Regions from separate parts of the Homo sapiens genome. Here region 1 is linked to region 2. Evidence: promoter capture Hi-C in human tissues and cell types (Jung and others, 2019). All regions are on one chromosome and are shown on one strand. The core of a region is centred on a gene start or on the middle of the fragment in contact, and the rest is flanking DNA. Distances in the headings are between cores, read along the strand shown. Region 1 overlaps DPY19L4 (dpy-19 like 4). Region 2 holds the start of ESRP1 (epithelial splicing regulatory protein 1).

Region 1 (6,900 bases), core at 3,269-5,768, 150 kb before region 2:
GGGTGCAGTAGCTCACACTTGTAATCCCAGCACTTTGGGAGGCCAAGGCAGGGAGATCACTGGAGCCCAAGAGTTTGAGACCAGACTGGGCAGCATGGAGAAACCCCGTCTCTACAAAAAATACAAAAATGAGGTGGGTGCAGTGGTGCCTTCCTGTAATCCCAGCTACTCGGGAGGCTGAGGGAGGAGGATGGATTAAGCCTGGGAGTTCAGAGCTGCAAGTAAGCCATGATCACACCATTGCACTCCAGCCCGGGCAACAGAGCAATATCCTGTCTCAAAAAAAAAAAAAAAAAAAATGTATATGATAAATCCTTAGAGTAACCACTTAAAAAAAAATCAAATGAAACATTTAGAAAAATAGTAAAATAGCAAGTGTAAAGCCAACTACATCAAAAATATTAAATGTGAGTGAAGAGCCTGAGAGTTCGAGGCTGCAGTGAGCTGTGACTGTGCCACTGCACTCCAGCCTGGGTGACGGAGCAAGACCCTGTCTCAAAAAAAAAAAAAAAAGAATGAATTAAATAATGCAAACAAAACTAAAAGCATTTGTGCTTCAAGGACACTCAAAAAAGTTAAGAGAATCAACTGAATGGAAGGAAATATTTCCACATCATATATTTGACCTTATATCTAGAATACATAAAGAATACTTAACATCTCAATAATAAAAACACAACCCAACTTAAAAATGGGCAAAGAGGGCTGGGCGCAGTGGCTCACGCCTCTAATTCCAGGACTTCGGGAGGCCGAGGCAGGTGGATAGCTGGGTGTGGTGGTGTGCACCTGTAATCCCAGCTACTCAGGAGGCTGAGGCAGGAGAATCGCTTGAACCTGGGAGGTGGAGATTGCGGTGAGCCAAGATTGTGCCATTGCACTGCAGTCTGGGCAACAAGAGCAAAACTGTCTCAAGAAAAAAAAAAAAAAAAAAAAAGGCAAAGAATTTGAATAGACATTGCTCCAAATAAGATATACAGACAGCCAATAAGCACATGAAAAGGTGCTCAACATAATTAGCTATGATGGAAATGTGAATTAAAACTATAGTGATAAATAGCTGCATTCACTGGGGTGGGTATAATCAAGAAAATAATAAGTATTGGCAAGGATGTGGAGAAATTAGAATCCTCATCCCTTGTTGGGGGGATCGTAAAATGGTGCAGCCACTTTGGAAACCAGTCTGGTTGTTGAAGTTAACCAGTTACCATATGACCCGGCAATTTAACTCCTAGATATATACCTAAGAGAAACGAACATATGCCCACACAAAAACCTGTATACAGATAATCCTATCAGCATTATTCATAATAACTAAAAAGTAGAAACAACACAAATGTCTATCAACTAATGAATGGATAAAATGTGGTAAATACATACAGTGGAATATTACCTGGCACTAAAAATGAATGAATGATACATGGAACAACATGGATGAACCTTAAAAAGATTCCAAGTGAAAGAAGCATGTTGTATGATTCAATTTATATGAAATGTCCAGAACAGGCAAACATAGAGATAGAAAATAGATTAGTAGTGGTTGCCTAGGGCTAGGGAGGACAGAATGATTGGGTTGACAGCCAGAAGGGTATGAGGTTTCTTTTGGGAGTAATAAAAATGTGTTAAAATTGATTGTGGTGATAACTGCATAGCTCTATGAACGTACTAAAAACCACTGAATTGTATATTTTATTTTTATTTATTTATTTATTGAGACAGGGTCTCCCTCTGTCATCCAAGCTGGAGTGCAGTGGTGTGATCACAGTTCACTGCAACCTCCACCTCCCTGACCTAAGTGATCCTCCTGCCTCAGCCTCCCAGGTAGCTGGGACTACGGGTGTGCGCCACCACGTCCGGCTACATTTTTGTATTTTTTTGTAGAGATGGGGTTTCTCCATGTTGCCCAGGCTGGTCTCAAACTCTTGGGTTCAAGCAATCTGCCCACCTTAGCCTCCCAAAGTGTTGGGATTACGGGCATGAGCCACTGCACCCGGCTGAATTATACATTTTAAACGGGTGAATTGTACGGTATATGAATTATATCTCAGCGAAGCTGTCACCAAAAAAGCTCATGTATAAATAAAATAACTTAAAATTCTGAAAATAGTTTTATTATGGAAACAAAATAAGGAGGGTAATTAAGCATGAAATAATTTCCTTCTTGATAAAAGTATATTGATTATTACAAAATTTGAAGTGTTAGTTTATAGCCCAAATCTTTCAAAGAATTTGTGTCTGCTGAAATGAACTTTGATCCTTTGCAAAGATGCAACTTTAGTTACAGGAGGAACATATTTAATCTAAATACACATTGTCACAGATAAGACTCAGAGGATAATATATATAAAGCTAACTATACTCATCTGTGTTAAATAGCTATACAAAGCTACTAACTTAAAATACGAAAGGGTTGTTTATGAGACATTTCAAACTATAAGTTTGGAATTCTTGTTCCTTTGTGATACCATTATTCTACTAAATACATATAGTGGTTAGAAGTCCAGTGTACCTCTTACAGAACAGCACATAGGATTAGATATGCCAAGATTAAAATGTTGCACATTTTAGGAAACTCAGAAATAATTCAAAGACGCCTTTATGCTAAACTCAGCAAATTTGGTTCCAAAATTTCCTTTATTATGAAAAAGTAAGTATAATGTTTAGACATTAATGTACAGAAAATAATTGTCATATATATTCCTTTATAATTTTCACACCTGTTTATTTTAAAGTGTTAATTCTACACATTAAAAAACATACTAATGAGATCCTGTTTGAATAGGAAATTGCTAAATTTTACTTGCAACTTTTTGTAGCTATAATTCTAATACACATTGGGATCTAAAACTATTAGTAAACAGCAACAATAGAGACTACGTATTTTTTAAATTGGGCAAATGAAAGAAGAATATATTGAGATGTAAATCAGGAAGTAGTTATTTGCGTTACAAATATGCAGATTAATTAATAACATACACCCTTTAAATACTAAAGCATTTAAAATAAGTTTAACAAAAAAGGCAATTTACACTTTTTAAAACCCCATCAGTTGTATAAAGAGAGGCACTACTTTTATCCACGAAAAGCATCAAAATTTTTTAACAGTTCAAAAATAGGGGCCCAAAACAACTGATTTATCAGAAACAAAACAATACAATGGCTATTCACAGTGTAAGAAATTAAATCTATTTTTTAAAGCATGTTTTTCAGTCTCAATTTATAACACACTTTGACTTCCATTTCTGCTTTTCCTTAAATCAATCTGGACTGTGTGGAAGAATGCCGTAACATGAAGCTATTAGCAATCTGGGTTAATGTTCTACAAAAAAAATATGCTGCCTATATACACAGAAAGTAAATGAAGAAAAAAGTTAGCACTGAAGTACAATGCATACTCCTTAGGTTCTTAAACTCTACCAGTCTAACAGAAAGCACCAAGATACAGATGCCAAAGTCAGAAAAAATACAAAGCAGCTCAGAATCAATATCATATATCTTATTCAAGGTAAATTTTATGTTAGATTCTTTGTCTGGCATTTGGGAGGCTAAATTAACTTAGGAGGCTAGAGATCCCATCTCTACTTTTTTTTTCTTTTTGAGATGGAGTCTTGCTCTGTTGCCCAGGCTGGAGTGCAGCGGCATGATCTCGGCTCACCGCAAGCTCCGCCTCGCCGCTTGACGCCATTCTCCTGCTTCAGCCTCGGAGTAGCTGGGACTACAGGCGCCCGCCACCCTGCCCGGCTAATTTTTTGTATTTTCAGTAGAGACGGGGTTTCACCGTGTTAGCCAAGATGGTCTCGATCTCCTGACCTCGTGATCTGCCTGCCTCAGCCTCCCAAAGTGCTGGGATTACAGGAGTGAGCCACTGCGCCTGGCCTCCATCTCTACTTTTAACAAAGACTTGCGCCGGGCGCAGTGGCTCACGTCTGTAATCCCAGCACTTTGGGAGGCTGGGGTGAGTGGATCATCTGAGGTCAGGAGTTCGAGACCAGCCTGGCCAACATGGCGAAACCCCGTTTCTACTAAAAATACAAAAATTAGCCGTGCTTGGTGGCAGGTGCCTGTAATCCCAGCTACTCCGGAGGCTGAGGCAGGAGAATCACTTGAACCTGGGAGGCGGAGGTTGCAGCGAGCGGAGGTTGCAGTGAGCCAAGATCGCGCCATTGCACTCCAGCCTGGGAGACAAGAGTGAAACTCCATCTCAAAAAAATAAAAAATAATAATAATAATAAATTCAAGGCACTTGTATCAGTGGGTTTGCAGTATCAAGGGCAAAGAACATTTTTTATTTCTTTGAGAAATTCCTTCCACCCAAAACCCATAAATTCTTCTCCTCTCATAGTAGATCTTTATTGTCAAACCTAACAACTGTAAGTTACCTAAGTGGAATTACTTGTAGAATTGTGAATCATTTGTTCACTCTACAAATAAGTGAAGAAATAAACTAAATGCTTTCCACTTAAAGTTGTCTAGTACTATTAACTGCAGTTAAAACAGAAGCAAATAAACTTATCTGTCATATTCAATATTGTCATTTCCATAATGAAGCTTTCTTTTCCTTTTCAACTGATGCTGGATGAAAAATTCATTATTTAAAACATCCCATTAACAATTTTTCCAGATCAATTTTATTTAAAAAATAAGTTGACAGAAAGAAGCAAAAGCAACTTACTAATATGTCAAACAAAACACAAGTACCAAACCTAATTCAGCACAGGTAACATAATATAAATCAACAAAAATTCGATTAAATATTTCACACTAGATAAAAAGTAGGGTGTTCTATTTCCCCTACAAAATATGGAAGCTGACTTTTCAATTACATTGTTTTACATGCTCTAATCACAAGTACTACCATGTGACTATTCACTGTGTGCTTAGGTAACTATGGTTATATTTTCAGAAGGCTTGAAGCAAAATACTAGTGACTCACTATTCAGATGTACAGAGTCAACCTGAGGTACACTGCCTGCAACTATCTTAATATAGTTAAGAAATTACGTATAAAAGTGAAATGAGAACCACTGAAACTAATCTATCAGATATATGACATCACCATCAAACAATTCTTCAGCTCCAAAAGAGCAAAGCATCTGAGAGTTAGTCTAAGAATGCATGTACTTTAACAACACATGTATAACAGAAAATAAAGACAACGGAAAAGCTCCCTTCTAATGTAGTGTACTTTTACAACACATATATAACAGAAAATAAAGACAATGGAGAAATGCTCTCTTCTAATGTAGTAATTTAGAGTACTGAAAATGCAATTTTTGCAGCACTTTAACAAGTGAGAATTATGAAAATCTGTTCACTGAACAGGAATATAAGGAAAAACTAAACATGTATCCCAACTTATTAAAATGACACATCTATAGGCTACATCTATCCTGAATCTCTCTATAAGGCCAAATTAACTTTTCACAATTTTCTCTTAATAAATGATTAAAAATATGAAAATACTTAAAGGAACATAGCATTTAGACTGTGAAACTGTGTTGTAAATTTTATTATAGTTGTCATTTTTTCTTGATGTTGAAGACTGCATCACAGTTTCATAAATAACATTGCTTGTGTTTTATAATATATCTGTATGCAGAGGTACGTTTAACAACATCTGCATGTATCCCCAGAAATTGTTGCTAATTTTAGAACACATATTTTTATTCTGATAATGATTTAATTTTTTTACTTAGTACTTCAGTAGAAAACATGTGAATAGATTGTATGCCCCATATCAGTATTTAAAAAAAAAACCTGAACAACATTCTTTTAAATGTCCATTTAACAAAATATATGTTAACGGTTATTGTTTTATCATGATTAAATTGGTATCAAATTAATAGGCATAAGTGAAAAAACTAATCACTTACTAGTCATTTAGAAAATGCAGTAACATCATGCATTATGTATTACTAAGAAAGTTCTCACTTAACATAAGCAGTAGATGAGGAGAACAGTATCATGAAAATTCTAAATATATCTTTATGTATATCCTTAAAAATCACTTTCCTTTATATAATTTCCATTTTAATTTAAATGCCACATATCTTCAGCTAACATTTAAATTAGTTTTTATTGTAAAACTTCAGTTGTTATACATCATAAAATACCTTCAGAAACTTGCTTGAAGGTCGGAATTATTCTTTCTATTAAATAATTATATCACATTATTTATTAAATGTTATGTTTGAGAAATGTATCTGACCTTGCACATATTCAAATTCAAGATCAATATTATAATAGAATGAAGATTTTATGGGGAAAATATTGCAATCAGTAAAAGTGTTAAAGACCATGTAACGGTAAGGAAGACACCTGTCTGGAATATTGCAGAGTGGTAGATATCACATTTAATCAAAGGACAGTAATGCTTGATCTTCTATTTCCCACAGAACTCTGGATCCAGTTAACAGCAGAAGGGGGAAAGAAGCAGCAATATTTCAAATGTCCATACTCTGATCTGCAAAAGACACCGAGTAGGTAGAAGAAAACTGCATTTTACTTCAGGTAGTCTTTGAAATGAAGGCTCTGTTATTTTTCAAGACTGGAAGGATATCACAGTGTTGATTTTATATACAAAGTAGGATCTGTTCCAGTATACTCTAGTGAAATAATTCACATATGGAGAATAGTTAATTTTGACCTCATGACAAAATCGCCCATATTTTGAGTAGGTTAGCTTGTCACCTTCTTCACAAACCATCTATTAAAAGATATAAAACATAATATTAAAAAGCTTATTAAGCTTATAGCAGAAATGCAATCAATATACAAATGAGTATATTTATATGAAAAAACACATTATTGCTAAACATTGTCTATAAAACATCTCACTGTTAGCAAATAGAAGCCTTCTTCATAAGTGAGTCACCATGCCCACTATACTCCTGAACTTCTCAT
Region 2 (6,603 bases), core at 2,176-4,675:
GGGAGTAAAAAAGTAATCCTTACATATTACTATTTCTGGTAAGGATGTAGCGACTAGTCTAGCATTTAATTTTTTAAAAAAATTCTTCCCCTTTTGTCAAATAATTACTAAGACTCGTATAAAAGGAATGATTTTCTGAAGACATAACAACTTGAGTTACTCCTTCAAACTTTTTGAATTGTCATAATATATTAAACGAAATAAAATCTGCACTTACTTGCCTGGGTCGTCATTTGTCAGTCTACATCTTTCATTGCAAGCCTTGCCTTATACAGGTACCTAAATATATTCTACTTCCATCTTTTCAAGCTCGGTGCCTGCCTACCACAATAAAAAGTTACAGCTCAAACTAATTTAAGTTGTTAAGAGACAGTGTATTAACAATGATTGGCTACACTGGGTGGGTTGTCTCTGCTGTTCCTTTTCCCACAGCCCCTCAGTATTTATCCCAGGGAGAGAAATCACATTTTACCTATAGTAAGACTGTATTTCTCTCACTCTGTAATCCTCTCTCTGTCAGAAAAATGAGCAAAGGTAAAAGATGAGGCTGACCCTTTTGTTTTGATGCAAGAATGTTTTGAACATTGACTTAAAATCAGACAAAGTGAAGAGTGCTACGATTGTGGTTTCACTAGATATAAGGTTATCTTATTTAAGTAGCCTTTTTAATGAAATGATTAGAAATACAACTTTAAATGTTTAATTCTTTTTTCCTTCCTTTCTAGGATATAGCATTTCCAACACAAATGAGGATATTATGACATACTAAAGAATAGTTCTTTCCTCTCTTTGTAGTTATTTTAAATGTCAAAAATTCACACTCTGTATTAGCTTCGGAAAAGGGAAGTGTCATGCATCTTGAAAATTGGACGTAAACAAAGAGACTATTTTAAGTCACCAAAGAGTATCTTTGTATATACATAACACCAAATTTACCATTTTAATAATTTTTAAGAGTATGGTTCAGTAAAACATTAAGTACATTAACATATTTTGCAACCATAAACACCATCCATTTCCAGAGCTTTTTCATCTTCCCAAACTGAAATTCTGTACTCATTAAATAACTCCCTATATGCATCTTTTTAAGAACAGAGAAACTTGAATAAACCAAAAATTTTTAAAAACCTCCAGTCACCCCAAAGCTCCAACCATTTTTTTCCCAGAAGCCAGCACTCTTACCTTCTTGGAAGCCTCAGGATGCAGGATTTGCCTGACATGAAGCTGCCCATCAGTACAGAGACAGAAGGAAGTCCCTACTCCAATATTCAGTTCATTGCTCACTGACTGGTTAAACTGCAAGAACAAGATACACATAGGGATGCAACTGATGCACGATTTACAAACTCTGCAAAGTAGCTCCCCTTGGTGATAGCCAGAGAAAACCGCAATAAGGGCCCTGATGGGTGACACCGGTGCTGGGGCAACCTTGGACAGACTCCTTTCCCACGAACCGTCTAGCTTCCTCGAGGTAGGGAAGCTTTCCAATCAATCCGCAGTTCGCGCCCAGGAGAAACTTGTCAATGCATTCTCCCTTCTGTTTTTACAAAAAAAATTCATTCAAGACTTAAGTCAGATGTCTCATTTCATCAGCAGGTTGCCTGCAGATTACATCATTCCCTAGTGTTACTTTTTATATGTTTGGATGTGCCAGGCTTAAGAAAGATGCCAGCTTCTAATAAACAAATACGGGTATTGGGTATACAGATCTGGAAAGTCTTGGATGAATACACCCCAGGAAGGATAGCTTTCTCCTATAACTCGAAGCTCGTGTGCTAGGGCAGAGGTCGTGAGAACGCAGAGCATTCATCTGTGCACAGGTGTTTAGCGCCCCGCCCTACCCGATCCGGCACCCGTCAGCACCCCGGAACAGCCGGTTTTTAGGTCACCTCAGTCCTAATAAGGGGATTCCATCAGTTCCGCAGTGACACAACGGGCAGCCTTGCACGTTCGGACCTGAAAAACCTCCCTGGCAGTGGGACCAAGGCCACTAAAGAAATAATGACGGACCGAGCCTTTCGTTGGGAGTTCAGAAGCCTGAAACCAGGCAGGCACCTTCAGGTTCCAACCCACAGTGCTACTTCTTGCACACCCGCCGGGCCCACCTGCACGTCTACGCCACAGCGCCCCCTGCCCGAAGGCTGTGGGCCCAAACCCCGCAGGGGAGCGGCGCGTCTGGGGTCTGGACCTGGAGATGGGGGCGCTAGGATTCAAACTCCGCACGTCAATCAATTGGCAAAATGGAGCTGACTCTCCGGCTCCAGTAACTACTCAGGAAGCAACTCGAAAACTAGTGAATGTCGGTCCCAAACCCTGGGGGCTGGGAGATGAAGAGAAGCAGCGACCCCCGCCCAAACGGTGCGCCCCGGCCCTCAGGCTGGGCTCCCACCCACGCGGCCGGGCAGGCGTCTCGCCACCCTGCTCCGGGAACACGCGTGGGCCGCCCTGAGAGGGCGTAGGGTGCGGTGGGGTTGGGCCCAGGCTGGGGTGGGTGGCGTGACCCGGGGTTGTCACCTGTCGGAGGGCTTGGTCCAGCTGCGACGCCGAGGACAGGCTTTCGACGTCTATTTTAGTTTCTTCTTTGCAGTCCTCCGTCAGTTCCAACTGATCCGGTCTAACTAGCACTTCGTGCAACTGTCCCACCTCCGAAGGTAGAGAAGCACGGGTCAGTTTCCCCCAATTTCGGAGCCTCTTTCTGCACCCTCCTCCCTCGCTCCCCTGCTGGGGCGGCCCGCGCCTCTCTTGGGGTCCGGACGCAGAATCAAAGCTCTCGACTCGCCATCGGTTCCGGTGCGTTCCTGCCCCCCGCCCCACCCCCCACCCGATAGGTCGGAAAAGCCCTGGAAGTGGACCCCGGGGCCTCCGAGACCCCACCTCGTCTCGGCGGAGCGTCCCCCGACGGGCAAAGAACCCGGCTCGGTAGCGCCGGCCTCTCCACCTGAGCTAAGTTGCGGAGGACTGAAATGGCTCCAAGGCAGTTGGCCAATAAGTTTGGTTTTACTCTAGCTTCCCTAGGCCTCGGGTCCAGACTCACAAGTGGGCAAACAAGAGCACTTATTTACTTACCTCCACCCCCCTCCCCGCCCAAACCTCTACCACAAACTTCTTGCCCCATTCCTTGCATTTAGACGAAAATGTGGAGAAATACCTTCTTGTTGGCCAGATCCACGACTTTCCAGAACAGCAGGATCAACTCCTTCTCATCCGAGCCTAGCTTGGCCCCGGTGGCCCCAGCAGTGATCCCAAAAAGCACCACCAAGTAATCCGGAGAGGCCGTCATGACGATAGGTGGGGAGGGGGAGAGGGGGGGTCGGGAGGCGGTAAGGTGGTGTGGAAGTGAGAACGAAAAAACCTGTGCTAAACCCTCTTCTAAGAGAAAAAGAAAGAGCGCCCACCCCCCTTCCTTGCTACTGCTAGTGCAAAAGGCGGTAACCAACCACCCAAGCCCACACCTGGTCGGTGCTCCACGCCCAGGGCAGGAAGGGGGGTGGGAAGGAGGGCGCAGGAGGCCTGCCCTTTTTGTATTCAGTTGCCCGGGCGTCTATGCAAAAAGCCTGGAGCAAGGCTGCCCCCCCCGGGAGGCACGCAATGGCTGAAAGCTTTTCTGTTTTGGGATGTGGCTTTACCTGCCCGCCCCTTCCCCCTCCCCCACGTGGTGCAGGTAAGAGACACCTGGCGGCGCCGGCCCATTGGCTCCTTCAAACCACGACGTGGCAGCGGTGGGGGAGGAGGCCGCTTCGGGAGGGGGAGGAAGGGGCGGGAGACAATGGCTGGATGAATGGAGAGGCGAGGGCAGGGGAGGAGGAGGGGGAGACGTGAGGGGCAGGGAAGAGGCGGTTGACACCCAGAGGGTAGACGAGGCCAGACGGGGAAAGGGCTCAGAGAGGTAAAGGGCTCGGAGTCGCTGGGGGGAGGGGTTCCCACTGGAGGTAACTGAGAGGTGCAGGGGGGCTCGGAGAATACCGGCTGCAGGGAACGAAGCCGAAGGTTCTGAACGGTCAAGCGAAAAGGCCAGGTGCAGGGAGGCGAAAGGAGGCCAGAGGTGAGGCCCGGGGCGCGGAGCTGCCCAGGGCGCGGCGCAGGCGGAGGACGAACTGCTGAGGGAGGGACCTGCCAACCGCAGCCAGGAGGTGGCGGGGGCAACTGCAGATCCCCGGAAAAGCAGCTCCTGAGCCAACACAACTTTCAGTGCAAACAGCAGGAGAAATCCTGCGAGCCCCCCCTTCTCCGGGCCGGAGCCCGGGTGCACGCTCGTCCCAAACCCGCCGCGCTGCCCACCTTCCGGAGAGGAACCCCGCGCGCGGCAGAGCCGGACGCCAGGGGCTGGACGCCCAACCACCTAGTCACTCCCCAGGACGCAGTTATCGCGCGCAAAGCAGCTGGGGGACCCCGCAAGGAAACTCAGGCACAATGGAGCCCGCTTCTTTTTCTGTCAACTCTGAATGCTATGTCTGGTTTGGTCCTGGCTGCTAGTTCGAAGCTGGAACATCCTCCAGAGCTGGGGCCCATTTCCTTTTATTTGCCTTGGGCCCCAAATGAAAAGCATCTATCCGCATGCCTAATAAAAATTTTCTTAAATCGGGCCACGCAGGCTTTTTCCCAGGTTCTGCGCCCTGACCCCATTCCCTCTGCTCATGCTTTTGGCATTGTATTGGAGTGTGTTGACTTGACCAAGCTCCCAAACAACCTCCCTGCTCCACCTCAGCTTGGTCTGCCCAGAGGCTCGTACCCCAACCATCACCCCCCAGCCACCAGATCGGTGGCAGTATGTTGTTGGGTCTTGTTGACATTTTAGAGAGAAAAGCGCCAGAGGTGAAGTTTTCTCGGGTTTTATATCTCAAAGCGATTTGTTCTTGGGAACAGAATTCTGTCTGAAGTATTAATAATTCGGCTCTAGGTGTCCAGCCCCGTTCATATTCATGATGTGAAACGGGCAACCATGCACCTATCCCTGCAGAACCCACTCCGGGTACAAATCCGGTAACCTTTCAAGACGCGTGTCAAGGGAAGCTGGAGACCTGGCTTTCCCAGTGGGGGTTCAGCTCCCGGGAGGGGGGAGAGGAGCCCGAGGCCCGCGCCGTCTCGTTTCCTGGTAGGAGAAGGTGCAGGCGGAGGCGGGGCCTCCCGTGATACAGGTGGCAGCTCTCGTCCCCTGAGAGCGGGCGAAGGCCAGGGTCCCACACTCGCAGCGCTGCGACGGCGCTCGGGACCTCCCTCGTCCACTGCTTGAGTTCCAGAGGTGGGTGCTTCCCTGTCCTGAACTTCAGAGTGCGGAGTCATAAATGGGTTCCGGCTGGCTTACTGCAGTAGCCTCGCTCCTCCCCAGCCCCGGTAACTCCGAGCTACCCGTCCAGGCCCTCGGGCGTCGCGGGGGCAGGGACTGGGCGCGGAACGAGGCAGGGAGGGACCTGGAAAAACCACCCAGATTGCATTGCAGTGGGCGAGGCCGCCTGGAGGAGCCGGTTCCCCCTAACCACCTCCCCGTGGGGCTCTCGGTGCGCGGTTCCCAGGTGCTCAGCTCTGCTGGGCCCAGGAGGTGCCGCCTCACAGGGACGCGGAACCCCGTGCGTGGCCCCCGCCGGGTGGAACAGATAGCGCGGGGCGGTCCGGAGGCTCGTCGCCAAGCAGGTGACTCTTGCTGAAAAAGTGGTTGGAACACTTGAGGAAACCCGGCCCCGCCTGTTCTTTCTAGGTCTTTGGAGTTTGGATTAATCATTTGTGTAGCCCGTTTGGATAAACCGAAGACTTTATTAAATCAGCGCGTTTAACAGGAATTCCGCAGTAGTATCCACATTAGAATCTTGAGTCTTGGAGTTGAACATATTCACACAGACTTGCCTTCTTCCTGTTTAGTTTATGCCTTGTGTTCCGTTATTGGAACGCTAAGCTTGTGGGAGTTGTTTACATCCTACTGCTCAAGGTCATCGCTAAGGTGTGATTTTTCACAAAAAGAATTTGCAACCTCCGGCATGAATGACTTAAGGGAAGTCTAATCCCGGTTTCTGATTTTTTTTTTTTTTTTAATTTAAAAGTTAATCTTTCTGGGCCGGGCGCGGTGGCTCACGCCTGTAATCCCAGCACTTTGGGAGGCCGAGGCGGATCACGAGGTCAGGAGTTCGAGACCAGCCTGACCAACATGGTGAAACCCCGTCTCTACTAAAAACACAAAAATTAGCCGGGCGGGGTGGCGCGCACCTGTAATCCCAGCTGCTCGGGAGGCTGAGGCAGGAGAATCGCTTGAACCTGGGAGGCGGGGGGTTGCAGTGAGCCGAGATCTGGCCATTGCACTCCAGCGTGGGCAACAGAGTGAGACTCCATCTCAAAAAAAAAGGTTAATCTTTCCAACTAGATTTTCAAGGATGAGGATTTTGTTGTTGTTGTTGTTGTTGTTCTCAAATGTATTCCCAGGGCTTGGAACAGAGCCTGACATATACTAGGCACTCAACAAATATTTGTTGAATGATTGTAATGAGTAACACCCATTTTTGCAGATCTTTGTCTTCTGAGCCTAGGGCATAGGTCATCACTGCAGGGGTGAGATTGTCAAAATGGGAGTCTACAGGTAATTTAAGACTTAAATGTTTAAAGAGTATGTGCTCATTC

Evidence for each region. The method cuts DNA at HindIII sites, captures the fragments that hold promoters and counts their contacts. A contact is called where the count stands out against the background at its distance.
Region 1: a fragment that was not itself captured here is called in contact with the fragment with the promoter of ESRP1 in region 2 in 1 of the 25 tissues and cell types used here (small bowel).

Annotation. Positions count from the first base shown.
Region 1 is chr8:94,789,549-94,796,448 of GRCh38, reverse strand. It overlaps DPY19L4 (dpy-19 like 4), which reads right to left. Exons shown (of 19, transcript NM_181787.3): 19 at 2,613-6,703. The coding sequence ends at 6,539. Among named protein-coding and RNA genes, the nearest start is that of INTS8, 30 kb to the left of the region's middle. The HindIII fragment of the contact is 8,042 bases long and covers 498-6,900 here.
Region 2 is chr8:94,637,996-94,644,598 of GRCh38, reverse strand. ESRP1 (epithelial splicing regulatory protein 1) reads right to left here and starts at 3,425. Exons shown (of 16, transcript NM_017697.4): 1 at 3,149-3,425; 2 at 2,515-2,643; 3 at 1,183-1,296. The coding sequence starts at 3,280. It overlaps LINC02894 (long intergenic non-protein coding RNA 2894), which reads left to right and starts at 5,132. Exons shown (of 1, transcript NR_034034.1): 1 at 5,132-6,603. RefSeq lists an enhancer at 1,998-2,087. The HindIII fragment of the contact is 5,400 bases long and covers 1-4,743 here.